Regions from separate parts of the Homo sapiens genome. Here regions 1 and 3 are each linked to region 2. The links are contacts of gene promoters, found by promoter capture Hi-C in blood cells and fetal thymus (Javierre and others, 2016). All regions are on one chromosome and are shown on one strand. Each heading gives the region's core, a stretch centred on a gene start or on the middle of the fragment in contact. The rest is flanking DNA. Distances are from core to core; before and after follow the strand shown. Region 1 overlaps ARPC5L (actin related protein 2/3 complex subunit 5 like). Region 2 holds the start of SCAI (suppressor of cancer cell invasion). Region 3 overlaps NR6A1 (nuclear receptor subfamily 6 group A member 1).

The links. The method cuts DNA at HindIII sites, captures the fragments that hold promoters and counts their contacts. A CHiCAGO score of 5 or more calls a contact.
Region 1: a fragment that was not itself captured here is called in contact with the fragment with the promoter of SCAI in region 2 in 4 of 17 cell types (naive CD4 T cells, total CD4 T cells, erythroblasts and 1 more); the score reaches 6.0 in naive CD4 T cells.
Region 3: a contact is called between a fragment that was not itself captured here and the fragment with the promoter of SCAI in region 2, in 2 of 17 cell types (naive CD8 T cells and total B cells). The highest score is 6.2, in naive CD8 T cells.

What each region holds. Positions count from the first base shown.
Region 1 is chr9:124,870,489-124,873,188 of GRCh38, reverse strand. The region is part of intron 3 of ARPC5L (actin related protein 2/3 complex subunit 5 like); the gene reads right to left. Among named protein-coding and RNA genes, the nearest start is that of ARPC5L, 9.7 kb to the right of the region's middle. RefSeq lists enhancers at 228-457, 155-655, 2,294-2,343. The HindIII fragment of the contact is 2,332 bases long and covers 253-2,584 here.
Region 2 is chr9:125,142,099-125,144,798 of GRCh38, reverse strand. It overlaps SCAI (suppressor of cancer cell invasion), which reads left to right and starts at 1,271. Exons shown (of 18, transcript NM_001144877.3): 1 at 1,271-1,414; 2 at 2,122-2,166. The coding sequence starts at 1,362. RefSeq lists a silencer at 1,153-1,652. The HindIII fragment of the contact is 9,654 bases long and covers 1-2,700 here.
Region 3 is chr9:124,760,379-124,763,078 of GRCh38, reverse strand. All of the region lies in intron 1 of NR6A1 (nuclear receptor subfamily 6 group A member 1), which reads left to right. LOC124900274 (a long non-coding RNA gene) reads left to right here. Exons shown (of 2, transcript XR_007061773.1): 1 at 1-2,700. Among named protein-coding and RNA genes, the nearest start is that of NR6A1, 9.6 kb to the left of the region's middle. RefSeq lists enhancers at 1,443-1,997, 1,998-2,553. The HindIII fragment of the contact is 564 bases long and covers 1,167-1,730 here.

The DNA of each region.
Region 1 (2,700 bases), core at 169-2,668, 270 kb after region 2:
TCCCAACTGTTACCTGGAAAGAGTTTATCAATCTAACAGAAGCTTTTGCCAACAATGAGCCAGTCTCCACCCTTACCCCCCAACCTCAGTTGCAATCCTGACAACACATTCTTTGCTGAGTTCTGAATACCCAGCATGCAAAAGAAAATTACAATCTGGGTTAGGTCCCCAAAGGTGACACCTATTTTAAACTGAATTACATCAGCCAACTTTCATTTCCTCGTATGAAACACTGGCTTCAGCCAAAAAGCTTCAAAAATAGAACAAGGAATGGCTTCTGCCCAATCGGGTCTCTACTCCTCTTCATGCAGTGATACCCACGTGCAGACAGGAAGGGCCTTCGGAGCAGAGCTGAATCTCCTGGCTTCCCCAGTATGAGATCCATCTTGAGTGAGCTGGGTCTGCGCCACCAGGCAAGCCACTCCCAGCGCTGGTTCCCCAGCTCCCTGCTTGGCTCTGATCCACCTTCCACACTCAAGAGGCAGTCCAGTCCCTCTGTCTTTCAGTTCTGGAGTTCCTTTTCCCCATCCAAACAAGGCCAGCCTGATATCAGCCACTGATAACCTCTACTTTGTAACTCCTTTTTTTTTTTGAGACGGAGTCTCGCTCTGTCGCCCAGGCTGGAGTGCAGTGGCGCAATATTGCCTCACTGCAAGCTCCGCCTCCCAGGTTCATGCCATTCTCCTGCCTCAGCCTCCTGAGTAGCTGGGACGACAGGCGCCCGCCAGCACGCCCAGCTAATTTTTTTTGTATTTTTAGTAGAGGCGGGGTTTCACTGTGTTAGCCAGGATGGTCTCGATCTCCTGACCTCGTGATCTGTCCGCCTCGGCCTCCCCAAAGTGCTGGGATTACAGGTGTGAGCCACCGCGCCCAGCCCTTGTAACTCTTTTCTAATGTGGTGTCCCCAAAGCAATAAGCAGGATCCCATAGGCTGAACAGAAAACATAGGCTCACTTGCTCTTCATGTAAACCTGGCACAACTAACAAATGACATCATTCAAATGATGGATGGGGAAGGGCAGGTATAAAACTAGTCCACGGGGGCAAAAAGCTACTGCTGTGGCGTTAACTCAGCACCACGCGTCCAGCAATCACTCGGCCCATTGATGGGTGAGGGCCTTCAGCAGTTGGGAGATGTGGGGCGCAGGGAGGACCTCCCTGAAGTCACCTATCATTTGTGAAGCCGGCTGTCATACTTGGCTGGCTTTAGGCCTTTTCAGAGAACAGGCTGTGGTGCTGAGGGAATCCTGCCCAGCCCTTGATCTCCTCTAGATCTTCCTCAATCACGGCACAACTGACACTGTGGACCCAGGATTCTCTGACGTGGGATCTTAGCTGTGTGTCATAGGCCTCTGCCCACTGGATTCCAGTGGCATCCCCAAGCTGTAACCATCAAAATGTCTCCAGTTTCCTGGGGGTGGAGGGGAAGGGTGCAAAATCGCTCACAACCACTGCTCTGGACAGAGCCCTGATCCAGAAGTATAGAAGCTGCTTCACTGAAGGGGAAAGGAACTCATACTTTTAAATCGCCACAAGGTCTCGGATCCTGTGCCAGGTGCTTTCACACGCCATCTCATTCCAAAAATCCTTGTGACAATAATCATTATCTCATTTTAAAGGCAATGGAATTGAGGCTCAGAGAACAGAAATTACCTGCGCAAGGTCACAAAACTAAGCTGTCTACACGGCCCTCACACCCAAGCTCCTCCCACAATCCCATGCTGCCGCTCTATCTGCAGACCCGAGCTGCATGTCCAGGACACTTGCTGTGTGCCCAGTGATGCTGATGTTAGCCCATGAGGCTCCCACGGAATCTAGGAAGCCAGCATGGCTGTCCGCCACGTAACAGAAGATGCTGAGTTGTGAAAGGGTATGCGACCTATCCGAGGTCACAGAGCCAGAGCATGGTAGTGCAGGGTGTGCGCAGATGCACAGCCGGGTTCCTTCTACTCCATCTGTGTCATCTCCTGCCACACACACTTCCCTATACAGCCCCAGGACAGGGCCCCTCTCTGCCCTCCCCAACCCCAATCCATCTATCCCTCTCCCTGCTCCCCTGTCCTCAATGGTCTAATATAAGTCCGATTCTTGGTACATGATAGAGACTCAATAAATATCAGTTCCATTCTCCTCCACCTGGGCCCCGTATTTGCCAGGGTTTCAGTTACCTTTATCCGTTAACCTCCCTTTCCCCAACCCCAAGTGGAGCACTCTCCATGGTAACAAGGTTTCTGACGCTTCTGACGCTGCCATGAATGGAGAAACGACCATCCCCTGGATGTGCTAAGCCCAGGCCTCTAAGCAGCCTCAAGGAACCTGTCACCAGGCAGGGGAGTCCCAAGACATGACCTTCAACAAGGTTCTGCACCCAGACCAAGGCAGCAGCTGACAGGCTTGATCTCATCTGTTCAATGAGAGTCCTGGGCCAAAGGCCTGACCCTGGAGCCCCTTTCAGCACTGACTGTCCATGAACTAGGCCCTACACCAGACTACAACCAACCTTCCCTCCTGGGGACCCTTCCCTTGACCCCATTTCATAAGGAGGGTGGATTGGGAGATCCTGATGGGGCAGGAATTACAAGCTTGAATCTCCACTTCGGAAAACACATTCCTGTTCAAATCAAGTCTGAAGGTTTTCGGTTTAAAGGCACACTCAGGAGCACTGCCGGGCTCCCCCTAAAGCAGCAGGCCCCACTTTCC
Region 2 (2,700 bases), core at 22-2,521:
AATTTACCGTCAGTATTACTTCATAAATGGAAAGTCATTTTACCATTAAAGATGTAGGTAGGACCATCTCAGAAGAAAAGACAACTCTTTACACCAAATACATTTGGTTTTGTGAAAAACTAGTATCCTAATTTTTGCCGCTTATGGAGATCAATGAGAGATTTTCCCCACCCCAATGTTGACATGTACTACTCGACGCTGTCATATTATTGAGGCATAAAAGATGTTCTAATAAAATGGAAGTGACTTAAGAGAAAGTTTTATGCCTCCTCCCAACTCTGAACAGATGCTGAGAATATACCAAACAAGTTCACACAGGAGTAGAGATTTAGAGAGGCCTTCCCACCTTCAAGAATTTTATAATACGTTAATGAGCTGAGTCTTATTTTCAAGGATGGCTTTGTTAAAGCAGAAGAAGGGTAACTATGCTTATGAAAGGCAGTTTTGCATGCCTGTTTGTCAAAAAATACAGTACAATTTATTTTAAAATTGATTAATTGGTGTAGAACTTGCAATGGTCACACAATCAGGATGGTCAGCTTCCATTCAGGGATCAAATTTGTCCAGGCCTTTCAAAATGGAACACGTTGCTTTTAGTATGGCATTGGTTCTGTTTGTAGTGCTGATTTTTCTTTCATGGTAATTAAAAAAAAATCTTACTTTCTTAAAAGCCTGCACCCAAGCTAGTGAGCTTTTCTGCAGAGGATTGAGCATCCAAACCATGCTTTATTTTGGTGGATTCTTAGAGTTTTCTGGCTGGGTCCTTTTTGAGGGGTAGCTGTGAGCTGTGAGACAATTTCAGCAAGATGTAGGGACAAGGATCGCATTCGAGGTGGCTTAAAAGGAAACACGTTTGTGAGAGTTGCCTCACTGTCTCACCTGCTAGAAGAAATTGGGAGATTTCAGGGCTTGTTTTCGGTCCTGGCGTGGTGCAGAGGTGGAGGGGCGCCAGCAGGTGTGTGGTATGCAGGACGCAGAGCCAGGAGAACCTGGGGCAGGTGTCTGGAGCCGGGGGTGCAGTTCCTACTTTTAGACGCATGGTGGCGCTAGGGTCTCCTCCGGCCCTGCTAGCAATCTCTAAGGCACCTCCGCCGCCACCTGCAGTCTCAACCAAACCTCTGGGTGGGCAGCGCGGGATGTGACGGGCCGAGCGTCCAATCGACTGACAGATTTCCGTCCACACTACTGCTCTAGCCAATGGGAGCCGAGGAGAGGCGCGGAGGAGGCGGGCCCCGCGGCAAGCCTGGCAGAGGCGCGAGGCCCTCCTCCCGCCTCTCCGCCTACTCCAGCCTCCGCCGCCTCAGCTTCCCGAGCGAGCCCTGCGGCCGCCGGAGCAGCTCCCGCGGCGGAGCAGGAGCCGGATGGTCAGAGGAGCCCGGCAGCCCCAGCAGCCGCGGAGTCGCCTGGCCCCCAGGTGCGGGGGCTGGGTGGAGGCCGGGGTTGGGGATGGGGTGGGGGCCAGGGAGCGGGCCCAGGGGCAGCGGCTCGGGGCGGTGGAGCATTCGGGGCGCAGAGACCGGAGGGGCGGGGGGTGCAGGCTGGGGGGACCTTGGGGGCGCCTGCAGGCGGCGGCGCGGGCTGGGCGCGATCGCCTCCTCGAGGCCAGGTGAGAGGGGCGTGTGAGGGAAGGGGCGCCGAGGGGTGAGGCTGGCGGCGCGGGGCCGGGAGGGGCAAGGCGGGCGCGCCCCCGGAGGGGCCGTGGAATGCGGGGGTCGCCGGGCCCGGAGAGGCGGGGCGTGGAGGGGGCAGTGCACGGTCGGGAACGGGTGGGCACAGGAAAGGGGAGGCTAGGGGGGCTTGCGGGGGTGACGAGGCAGACAATGAGTAGGTGGAGGTGGGTGATTTTGGGGAGCTGGGCTGTGACGAGCAGGGGTCGAGGATGGGGTGAGGGACCAGGAAGGTTTGAGCTCAGGGGGAATTGGGGGAACGGTGAGTCCCAGGAATGCTAGGTCTTGGTAAATAGGGGAAACAGGGCATGAGGCGTTTGTAAGGTCAGATCTGGGCTTGGCGAGCCTGTGGTCCCAGAGGGTGGTCTATTTAGTTCTTGACTGGCACGGTAGCGCCGGGAGATGTTTTCTTGTATGTTACTTTTAGTTACCGTCTTATTTGTTTGGTCTGCAGACTGACTGGCACAGTGGAGAAACCGCCTCGAAAACGGAGAAGCAGGTAAGGCAGTGCCTTCCTATTTTGCTTCATGTTTTTCTTTTTGCTTGGCTGCACCTGTGCCGTACTGCATAATTGTATACTGTCAGTAGATGAAGTTTCTTATTTATCCCCCTTTTAAAAGAATATAACCACATGCATGATTTTTCTTTTGAGGACTTCAAATTACTACCTCTACAGTCGATTTTTTTTTTCTTGGTATCTAAGATAATGTGGGAAATCTTGAGAAATCCTACTTTTTTACTTTTTGATGTTGTGTAAGGATCTCAGCTATTTTTTTTTTTAACCTTAGCCATAATTTCATTTTCTCCAGCATCTCTGTTTAAAAAGCTCATCTTGGCTGGGGTGGCTCATGCCTTCAATCCCAGCTCTTTGGGAGGCTGAGGCAGGAGGATCATTTGAGCCTGGGAGTTCAAGACCAGTCTGGGCAACAGAGCAAGACTCCGTCTCTACAAAAAATTGAAAAACTAGCCGGTCCCATAAATATATACACCTACTATGTACCCACAAAAACAAAAAATTAAAAAAACAAAAACC
Region 3 (2,700 bases), core at 199-2,698, 380 kb after region 2:
GATCTGAGCCAGCTACTTTTGTTCATGGAATACTTGAAATAATTAAACTATACTTGATTCAGCCTTGGGCATTTGGCAGACTATTTTTTTCTTAAACGAACAGTGAGTCTGTCATATCAAGGAAAACTGACAGTATTGGTTGCCAGTAAATAAAATTTGAGCTTTCAAGCAACAATTAGTTTTGGAAAACTTGTACTTGCCACTAAGAGCTTGACAGCTTCCCAATGATTAATGTCTTCTGATGAGATGGATGATGAAATAAATATGATTTTCGATGTTATGAAATGTGTCAACATTTTGAAAATCTGAATATCTCAGTAATTCAGTATTTTCCAAAAGATCTATGTGTGATATTACAGGATCCTACACAGCTAAGAGATCTGTTCAAAATGCCAGATTGATCAATGGATTTTAATGTAACGGATTACACATAGTTCATTGATATGGTTTTAAACTCACACTGAACTAACCTTTAAGAAAGTACCACTTAATTGAGTTTTGGTGTAGTATCAAAGAAGACTATCCACAATTACTTTAAAAAGCAAATACTTCTTCCTTTTCCGATTATAAATCTGTGGGGCCAGATTTTCTGCCTGTGCTTCAACAACAACAAAAAATCACAATATACTGAATGGGTAAACAGATAGGAGATCTAGCTGCTAGGATTAAGCCAGATATTAAGGAGATTAGCAAAATGTAAAACAATGCCACTCTTCTAATTTTTATGTTTTATTGGACAATTTTATTTTTCATAAAAATGTTATTTGTACTAACGTGAATTTATTAAATTTAAATGGATTATCAAATATTTTAAATTTTTCATAGGTTTATTTTCCAGTATGATAAATATCAATAGACAAAGCCACATAAATATCAACCCTTTAGGGTCCTTCATAATTTTTAAGAGTGTAAAAGGGATCCTGAAGAACACTCAGGCATAAATATATGAGAACTCCAGGTCTAAATGAACTAACGAAATGTGTAAAGAAGATGGTGACTTCACCAGATACCATTAGTAGTACTTTTTTTACTTTGGAGTTTTCTTACTTCCCTCGATAATTGAGCTACTTTTATTGAAAATGAGTTCATATCATTTTAAGTTTTCTTTGCTTGGGAATACATGAAATGTGTGGTAGTGCACTCTCACTGAGTTCTCTGATAAAGCTTTTGTTACCTGCTACATGAAACCTGTTGCTTAACTGATAATTGTCTTGTGGCAGCAGTTTTTCAAGAGAACCAGTTGCCTCACCAAGGGTAGACTTACATTTGTGGAAATAAATCTGACAACAGAATTTCTTAAGAGTCATTGCTATAGAATAATGAACAATTTATAAGAGATAAAGATCCTATCGTGCTTTTTAAAACTTCCATCAAGAATAGTTTGCTTATTTGCTTTCCTTAGACATGTTTGGCTTCACTGAGTCTTAGAGTTGTGATTTCGGTAATGCAGTTTTGTAAATTGGTTTGCTTTTAACCTGGTTTTCACTGAGATGGTAATAAAGTCTGTATAGGAGAGGCATCTCTTCCTCTGGTCGAAGAATATCCTTTCCTAGTGTGAGTAACATTTTAGTGTAAGTCAATTACTGTGTTGTTAAAGAGTTAGAAATTTACTCCTTAGGGTAGTTACTAGGTAGAACTCATCCTGTAGTGGGCTTGCTGGCTGAAGAAATGTCACATAACAATGTGAATAACAAATAAGGAGTTACCGCATCAGAACTCAAGGTGAAGCTTGGATAGGTGTTGAAAGATCAGTGAGATAATTATTTGGGCTTCCTTCCTAAGAGCTCTAATTATCTTGATATTCTTGGAGTTTCATGTAATGTACCTTTGAAAACATTTTTGTGTTTTGTGGGGATTGCAGCTTAGTTATAAGAAAATACAAGCCTTTCTTTTATTTCTTAATGTTTGGATTTGAAGATTCATGTGAAATCTTCAATTGCATTCTTCAGTTGAGTTAAATTGCTTTAATTACGAAACCTAATAACTGAGACAGATTTGGCTTTTTTCTTCCATATTCTTTCTGTACCCTTGAAGTCTAACCTGTCAGGAGACTTCCTCTCTCTATTCTTGGAATCCTTCCCCCAAGATGCCTTTTTAGCAGGATAATAAACCACCTGGGGGAAGCCCCCCATTGACATGCATTTAGAGGGCTTTGTTTTTTGGAAATGGCAATAGTAGTCCCATCCAGGGAGGAAGGATTTTGGTTAGATGGTGTGAGGCAAAGAGCAGGGACTCTGGAGTGTGGCCTAACAAAGATCACAGCTATGCGACTTTGTCACTTGACTTCTCTGAACTTTAGTGTTCTCATTTAACATTAATAGCTAACATTTACATAGTGTTTATAATCTAAACACCTTATGTATATTTATCGTCTTAACTCTGAGGTAGGTGTTCTGTTATCCCCATCTTACAGGAGAAAACTGAGACCCACAGAGTTTAAACCTCCAGATTTCGCAGCTAGTAACAGCATTAATAATTTGTTTCATAGATTTAACATCCCCTCTTCTCCAATATACTCTGACATTTCTGAAATTGACTGTAGGGTTATAAGGATTAGAGACAAGGTCTGTAAATTGCCAAGCATAGTATCTGCCTAAAAGCAAAAACCTGAGAATCTGGGGCATTTATCTATGTTGGAGAGGCCCAGAATTCAACTTTTATTGATTAGAGAGCCAAAAAGACCCACTCTTAGAATTGCAA